Linked DNA regions of Homo sapiens: region 2 is linked to region 1. The links are contacts of gene promoters, found by promoter capture Hi-C in blood cells and fetal thymus (Javierre and others, 2016). All regions are on one chromosome and are shown on one strand. The core of a region is centred on a gene start or on the middle of the fragment in contact, and the rest is flanking DNA. Distances in the headings are between cores, read along the strand shown. Region 1 overlaps LINC02286 (long intergenic non-protein coding RNA 2286). Region 2 holds the start of GZMB (granzyme B).

What was found. Contacts are between HindIII fragments. The CHiCAGO score rates a contact against its expected background, and 5 or more counts as called.
Region 2: the fragment with the promoter of GZMB here is called in contact with a fragment that was not itself captured in region 1 in 5 of 17 cell types (total CD8 T cells, total B cells, naive B cells and 2 more); the score reaches 9.6 in total CD8 T cells.

Annotation. Positions count from the first base shown.
Region 1 is chr14:25,149,386-25,153,657 of GRCh38, forward strand. All of the region lies in intron 2 of LINC02286 (long intergenic non-protein coding RNA 2286), which reads right to left. Among named protein-coding and RNA genes, the nearest start is that of LINC02286, 4.7 kb to the right of the region's middle. The HindIII fragment of the contact is 865 bases long and covers 2,044-2,908 here.
Region 2 is chr14:24,632,039-24,636,310 of GRCh38, forward strand. It overlaps GZMB (granzyme B), which reads right to left and starts at 2,152. Exons shown (of 5, transcript NM_004131.6): 1 at 2,068-2,152; 2 at 877-1,024; 3 at 286-421; 4 at 1-80. The coding sequence starts at 2,122. GZMH-AS1 (GZMH and GMZB antisense RNA 1) reads left to right here and starts at 1,064. Exons shown (of 3, transcript XR_007064087.1): 1 at 1,064-1,310; 2 at 2,258-4,272. RefSeq lists an enhancer at 1,531-2,730. The HindIII fragment of the contact is 9,884 bases long and covers 1-4,272 here.

The DNA.
Region 1 (4,272 bases), core at 1,226-3,725:
ATGGTTGTAGCTATTCTAGTTCCTTTGCCTTTCCATATACATTTTACCATAATCTTGTCTACATCTACAAATTCTCTTGCTGGAATTTTGATAGAAATTACATTTGACCTGTATATTGAGAAGGCTGTGAGTTAGGTTAGCAATTTGCAGAATCAATTTCCCTGTAACCATCTCCATTGTTTATTTGCATATATTAATATTCATTGACACACAAGCCAGTGTGTGCCTGTGTGTGCATGCATGTGTGTATGTAAAGAAAAAAGGGGGAGGGAGGAACTTCTTCCTTCTCCTGATTTGGTGTCATATGAGGTATAAGCAGCTCAGTGAGGGTTTGGGGCACAGGTGAAAAATCTACCAAATAAAATCTTTAGATACAACCATTAAGATGTGACCAATTTGGTTGAGGTATTTTGATGCAGGCCATTTAAAACACAGTATCACTGTTGTATTGCCAACTTATATTAGTAACGAATATCCCTGTGTCATTTCTAACCCCCATTCAAATCATGGAGGATTTTCATATTCAGTTGTGTTTATTTTTGTATTGGCCCACATTTTTGTCCTATGTATAAAGTTTAAAATTAATTTTTAAAAAATTTGAATAGGCAATGGATATATTCAAAATTTAAAAAATGTAATACATCATATAATACAATCACAAAAACATCAAAACAATATATGAAGAAGCAAACCTTATATTCTTATAGCCACACTATCCATATCCATTTAATTCTACCCCGCCCCCAACAGGTAACCACTTTTTAATTTGTTTATCATTCCAGGGAATAACCCGCATATATGTTTACATATACACTTAGAGTATTTACTTCAAAACACTATCATTAAAAATGTAAATAAATTTTGACTTTTTATTACTTTGTCTGACAGTAAATATGGTCTATGATCTCAGTTTGTTCCATTTTTAAAAAACACAATTTGTAATAATGTATCTTGAGAGTGAATACCCTCATTTGTAAAATTTTTGTTAAAACTTAAATCTTGGCAAGTTTTCCCCTCACTTTCTTACCTTTTATGTAACAATATTGTTAGATAAATCTGTTTAATTTTAAGGCCTGAAGATTCTTTATAAATCATGTAATCTTACTCAAGACATTTTGAGATCAGGAGAAGAGAAGGAGTGTGTTCAGGACCACAGGGTCAATTTGTGGCAGAGCTGGGAGTGGAACAGAGGCCCAGTCCAGAGCTGCCCTCTGCCCACACTCCTGAATACACCCATTGCTGTGAGATGACTCAGATTTATTGTTACCATGGCTGAAATCCATTGGAAAAATGTTTCTGCCATTCATCTCAATCCTCTGCTAGTCATGTGGTTTATCCTTTATAAATGAGGATTTCTTCTTTTTTGTTGACAGTTTCATGATTTTAGTTGTTTCTGCTCTCTTAACATTTGCCCAGTTCAATGATTAATCCTCTGATCTGAGCCCACTTAGACTGGAGTAATATCTTGCCAATGAGAATGAGCAAGTGAATAATTGAAATTTTTATTAAGGATGAAATTTCTTTACTATGTTATATTTATTATATATATGATAGTTTCAACTTTCTGAGTCTCTCTTGTCAAATGCATTCTTTCTCATTATCTCCTTTATAAAATGTTTAATTTAAATGGTCAGTCTTCTGTTCTTATGCAGGAGAATGTCAGCCTGATCCTCAACCAATTAATACCACGTTTCAAGTTGGGTTTGACTTCTACTAACGTAGTAGTCTGACCCCTAGTGGTTATAAGAAACATCTGCACGGCTTGTAAGCAAATTTTGACTGAATTTTCTGAAAAGTGAATATCGGACAATGAATTTCTCCTTGAAAATAAATAAAATAAAAATAAGAGAAGAATTTTGAGTCCATAGAAAAAATAATAGGGAAGTTCAGGTAAAATCATGTTTCTATAAAAATAATTTCAAATCGGTATTTTTACTGATTTTTTAGTATTATGTGATCAGGCTGCACTTATGTAACACATTTATGGTGAACATAACACACTTATGTTCCAGGAATTCATTCTATGTTATTTATTGGAAACAAAGCTTGTTTGCCCCCAAAATTAATGTTTTGTCATTGTCCCAGCATGCCCTTTCTAGTCTGCGTAGAATTGGGATCAAACTTAGAGCTGGATGACATTTTTGTGGTCTGAAGATCAGAGAGCCAGAAAGGACTGGCCACAAAGTGAAGTCACAAAGTGAAATTATCAGTAAATCTAAGCAAACTCTGTCTTTCATGAGGCCCTGAGGTCTAGGAGGGCCTGAGTCACATCAGGAGAGTACAGCCTGCCCTTGATTCTTGGGAGCTGGGAGGCAAAGTCGTGCTGCAGGGGAGAAGGAGGAGGGTCTCAAGAGTGCAGATCCAGAAAGGAACAAACTGTAACAACTATAAATGCAGTATGTGCTTACTGTAAAAATGTCCAAACAGAAGGATATGAAGTAAAAGGTAAAAATTCCTCCTTTTTTTCCAGCCTGAGTTCCGCCAAAACCATAGCCTAGAACTATGTACTTAGACATGCAACCACCAGACATTTTTTTGTGTGCATGCATGTGCGCACGCGCACACACACACACACACACACACACACGCACTGTCTTATTTCACATGGGTTCATGTTATACATATTGTTCTATAAATTGATTTCTTCACTTAATAAAATATCTTGGACATCTTTTCAAGTCAGTATATTCTTATTGTCTGCCTATCTACTGTTCTGATACAAGAATGTGGGCTAATTTATTAACTATCCTTAAGTAATTTACATGTAGATGTTTTTAAAAATTTTCTGCTATATAACCAGTGTTTTAATAAACATCCTAGGGCTTGTAACTACAGACTTATACAAGTATATGTGTGTGTATATATATATATATGGAGTAAATGCCATTAAAATGAAATTTTAGGTCAAAGCTTATGCATAATTACAATCTTGACAGTTAATAAAAGCATATTTTTGAAATTGATATTGTCCCATCTCCCTTTCTTCACTTATTCCTTGTTCCTGGTGCCCCTTCCCAGGCCCTGATGGCTTTATATTTCTCTTTCCCTTAGTCAACCCTGCCCTTTGTCCTTTATGCACATCTAACCTTTTCTTTTGTGAAAAGAATGAAGTCTTCCCCTGTGAATTTCCTCCACTCCCTTTGCTCTGTGTAGATGTGCTGACACTTTTTTCTCTCCCTCTCTCTTTATGCCTCTCAGACAGCTGAGGAAGAAGCACCCTTCTAGCCTCCACCTGTTCACTTTTGCCACATCCCTTCTTATACTTTCTGAGCCCTTCTCCCATCAGGTATCCCTTAATGCTTCTTTAATCTCTCCTTTTTTACTTCTTGTTTCTACCTGGTTATAAAATGGTATCCTCTATCCTTTAAGCCATGTTTTCCATAGGCTGTCTTCTAAACACTATTTTAGGAGGTACTCAGTGGAAAAAATAATCATTTCGTCAAATAAATTTGAGTCATTCATATACTGTTAACTTCCTTTTGAATATTTAGAACTCACAGTAGCTTGTTAAAGGTGCTGAGAAGTTCTGCAGTAATGAAAAGACATCTGCTTACCTTTGCTTACTCTGTATATCCCTAAATTATTTTACCATAAAACCTACCCTTTCCCTTTTTAATCTTCTGTAATGTTTTTTAATATCTATAGATACCTTTTGGGAAATTTTTCTTGTCTCTGCAACTCTAAATTCTAAAGCTAAGGTTTTTTAACTCTGCCAAATTCCAAAGCTAAGGTTTTTTCTTCTATTTTTTAAATTAAAAAAATTTTTAAATGGGTAGATAATCATACATATTTATGGGGTACGTAGTGATATGACAATACAAACAATGTGTAATGATAAGATTGGAGTAATTAGCATATCCATCATTTCAAATATTTATCATTTCTTTGTGTTAGGAGCATTCAATATCCTCCTTGTAGCTATTTGAACCTTTATATTGTTATTAACTATAGTTACCTACAGTGCTATAGAATTTTAGAACTTAGTCCTCCTATCTAGGTATAATTTCGTATCCTTTAACAAATCTCTCCCTACCTCCCATCCCTTTTCCCCTACACTTCTTAGCCTCTAGTATCCTCTGTTCTACTTTTTACCTCTATGATGTTAACTTTTTTTAGCTTCCACATATGAATGAGAACATGTGGTGTTTAACTTTTTGTTCCTGGCTTATTTCACTTAACATAATGTCCTCCAGTTCCATCCATCAAATGTCATATATATACATGATATGGTTTGGCCATGTTCCCATTCAAATCTCAATTTTAATTGTATCA
Region 2 (4,272 bases), core at 902-3,401, 520 kb before region 1:
TGCCCTGGCTTCACCTGGGCCTTGTTGCTAGGTAGCCTGAGGGGCTGCACAGCTCTGGTCCGCTTGGCCTTTCTCTCCAGCTGGTGGGGAAGAGGCAAGAAAGTCCAGGTCAGCCAACGAACTTCTGGGCCCCGACACAGTGATGGGGCTGCACAATCTTCCCTCTCCTCTGAGGCATAGGAACTAACCAAGAGGCCAGGATGGAAAGGAGGGAAGGGCCGGCATTCCAGGGGGAGTGGAACCAACTGGACCAAGAAGAGCAAGAGTGGCAGGAGTGTGCCTCACCTGCAGTAGCATGATGTCGTTGGAGAAGTTCTTAGGATTATAGGCTGGATGGGGGATGGGTCTTTTCACAGGGATAAACTGCTGGGTCGGCTCCTGTTCTTTGATATTGTGGGCCCCCAAGGTGACATTTATGGAGCTGCACAGAGAGCAGAGTGAGGATGGGGGTGGAGTCACAGGGTATACAGCCCAGAGACAGTGAAGAGCAGGTGACAGCTGGGGCAGGGCTGCAGCTGAGGGGAAATTAAGGGGACAGTCGGTCCCCAGGAATTGGAATTCTGGTAATTGCACCAGGTTTCTCAGGGTTCGGTTCCCCCTAGAAACACAGGTGGAATTGCTTCAGTTTGTATTCTATGCCAAAGTATGCCCCCAGTTCTAAATATGGCAGGCTTGGTCACTCTGCTGTTTCTTACTTCAGCAGCACCTCTGGAACCAACCTTCCCCTCTCTCCACAAACTTAACTGCCCTTTTCTCACCCTCTAAGGAGACCTCCTGGCATGTGTGTTCACAGGAGCCCAGGGAGCTCCTTGGGAAGAAGGCAGGGGTCTCTGTGGAGTGTTTCCAGGAGGGTGTGGGCTGTTTTCTGCTCCTCACCTTCCCCAACAGTGAGCAGCTGTCAGCACGAAGTCGTCTCGTATCAGGAAGCCACCGCACCTCTTCAGAGACTTCTGATCCCAGATCATAAGATAAGCCATGTAGGGGCGGGAGTGGGGCTTGGCCTCATGTCCCCCGATGATCTCCCCTGAAGGAAAAGTCTGTCTGCTTGTGGGCACCCATGGAATCTGCTGGGTGGGCACCTGCTTAGTGGCTCCAGAACTCCTGGGCATTTGGGAGCCTGGGATAGCCTGGAGTTGGGAGTGGCCTGGAGGAAGGGGCTTCAATTTCCTGCTCTGAAAAAGGGAAGAACAGCAGACTTTGGTCTGTAAATCTTTCTTCCATATGTAGTTGAAGGCGAGCATACCTGTCTTAGGGACAGTGAAATCCCAGAGGCTCCTGATCATTCCTCTCCTGACTTTGCTTTGTTTCAGGTGAGTTTCCAAGACCCTTATGAGTCCTGTGGTGTCTAGGATAGTGCTGCTTTCTAATGGCCAGGGTGTAAGTGGAGGGATCTAGATACTGTCATATCCTGTTTCCTAGAGCCTGACATGTAGTGGGTGCCCAGTAAATGTTCATGGCTGCATGATGGACTGGCTCCAGTTAGCCTCTGGATGAGGGCTGGTAGAGCAGTGCTGGTGGAATTCTAGAAAGCAGGGAAGCTGGGGCCTGCCGTAGTGCCTCATCCTTGGAAAGAGGGGAGCCACCAAAGGCCAGGGAAGAAAAGCAGAGTTGGAGAATGGGACTGAGCAAACACATTAACAGTGTTCTGAGGACAGTGATTGTACCAATTCTGCTGTCAGCTGAGCTCTGGGTTTCTCTCCTAAGTAGACAGTGAGAGAAGCACCTGTCTTATCCCAGAAACAGAAGCCAGGCCTACTCTAGAATAATTTAATATTTCTCTTTTCTAGTTTCCCATCCTCTGCCATTTACTTCTAGGAAAGTCCTACTCTCCAGGTGACAAAGGTGGGCTCTGGGGAAGGGATAGTACCCACTGGCTCTTCTTGAGAATGGCCTGCTGCTCTGCCATTCCTGCTGATAGCTTATCCAGCATCACACTTGGGGGGTCTTGGTAGAATGGGAGCTGGAGTTCAGAACATTCCTGGTAGATAGATGGATCAGGAATGTGGAGAAAGGGCAGGAGACCTGTGGGATGGGGTTGGGCCCCCGAGGGTGGAGACGGTCACTCACCTGCATCTGCCCTGGGCAGCAGGAGGAAGGCCAGCAGAAGCAGGATTGGTTGCATCTTCTCAGGAAGGCTGCCCTGGTTGGAGCTGCTGTTGTTTCCTCCTTGCTCTCTTTTAGCTCTTGGGAGAGGAAAGAGGTGGAGCAGGCTCAGTGACTTCATGTTCCCCTCTGGTTTTGTGGTGTCTCATCACAGATTTTCTGTAAATGCTGCCCACCCCCACTGCCTCTGCCTGATGACGTCCTCTGGGTGCTTGTGTGAGAATCATGCAGTGACCACATCATCACCCACAGCTGATGACTCAGAGTGGACCACCTATTCAGCCCAGAGCAGGAACCCAAGCCTATGAAGTGAATTGTAGGATGTGGTATCAGCCAGTAGAGGTACTGGAGCACCAGAAACCTGAGTTCCCAGTGATAGAACCGCCAATGCCTCATGGCCATGCTGCTAAATCCATCAGGATAGTTTCTTTAGCAGGTATGTGTTTGAGCCCTTCTGTTGTGCTAGAACCAAGCATGTTGGAGATGTGTCTCCTTCACTTAGAGAGCTGACCATCTGGTTGAAGAGACGGAAATGCCAGGAGCCAGAGTACAGTTTGGGGAGGGCTATGGTAGCACAATACACAAGGCAGTAACAAAGCATGGCCACCATCTACTAGACCCATCTAGCAACCCATTTATTATCATAGCTTCCTTTCTAGAGAATTTCTAACATCCCTTATTTAGTTACAAATGTTTAGTGTGAGAGTCCACCTCTTTTCTGAATGCTTTCAATAAAAGTCCTGTACTTGACATTTTATTGGGCTAGATTAATGAATTGCTAGGAGTCAAATCCACTTTGGGTAGGCTGGGGTCAGTCTACTCAAGCCACTAGAACCAAGAATGAGAAAGGGCTGGTTCTCTAAAGGACGTTTGTGGTGCTAAATTGCTGATACCATATGAAGTGAGGAAGCATGCCAGGCAGCCAAAGATCAGTAGTTGTGTTGTTTAGTATTCTGTCTCCTGTCCAGAGAGCCACACTTCTTACATAGCAGGCTCAGCACATAACAGGCTCACAGTAAACATTTGCTAAACAAACTACACTAATGCTATCATTATAATGGATGTGAAAGATTGTTGTTTCTGAACAGCCCGTGCCCAATTCTGTTAAAAGACAACTAAGTCTCTCTACATGGTTCGATTCTTGTGATTTGTTTCCACCTTTATATTTTCTGTGAGGAAATTTTTCTATGAGGAATGGTATATCTCAAAATATAGAATTCCAGTGTAAACGTCTTCCTTGTCAATAGCAAGCCAACTACATTTATCAAACTTCTATTTTTTGAACCTAGCTTGCCCCATAGTAGACGTTTTAAAAATAATTTTTTCTGATTATAGTCATAATATATGTTTGTTAAGAAAATTTGGAAAGTAGGAAGGGAAAATATCACTTTTTAACCTGTCTCCCACAGACTGACTGTTACCATAAGCAGTGTGTTTTAAATACTTGGGATCACATTGTACATACAATGCAATTTATTTTATCCTTGATTAACCCTACAAATTAAGCATTTTCCCCATGCTCGTAGAAATCTTAGTCAATACAACTATAGTCTTTCTTTCCTAGGCATTAAAAAATTTAATATGCAAGTAATTTTTAAATAATTTTAGCAAAGCGAAAATAATAAACATTACCTAATTTCTCATCATTCACTGATAACCATCTTTAATGTCTTGAAATATGCTCTAGCACATTTTTTCTCATGTAATATCTGCATTTTTTAAAATTAAAAGGGGATTATGCTAAACATAAGTTTATGACCCATTTAAAAAATTGAGGTAAAATTCACATAACATACAATTAACCATTTTAAAGTATTCAATTCAGTGACATTTAGCACATTCAAAATCTGCAACCACCACCTCTGGATATTTCATATAAACGGAATCACACAATACATGACCTGTTGTGGCTGGCTACATTCACTTGTAATAATGTTTCTGAGATTCATACAAGCTGTAGCACATGCCAGTATTCGTTCTTTTTAATGGAAAAATAATATTCCCATTGTATGTTTATACCACAAGTTATTTGTTCATCTGTCAATGGACATTTGGGTTGTTTTCATCTTTTGGCTATTGTAGCTAATGCAGCAATAATAAGCATTTGTGTACAAATTTCTGCATGAACAATATGTTTTCAGTTCTTTTGGATATATACCAAATATATAT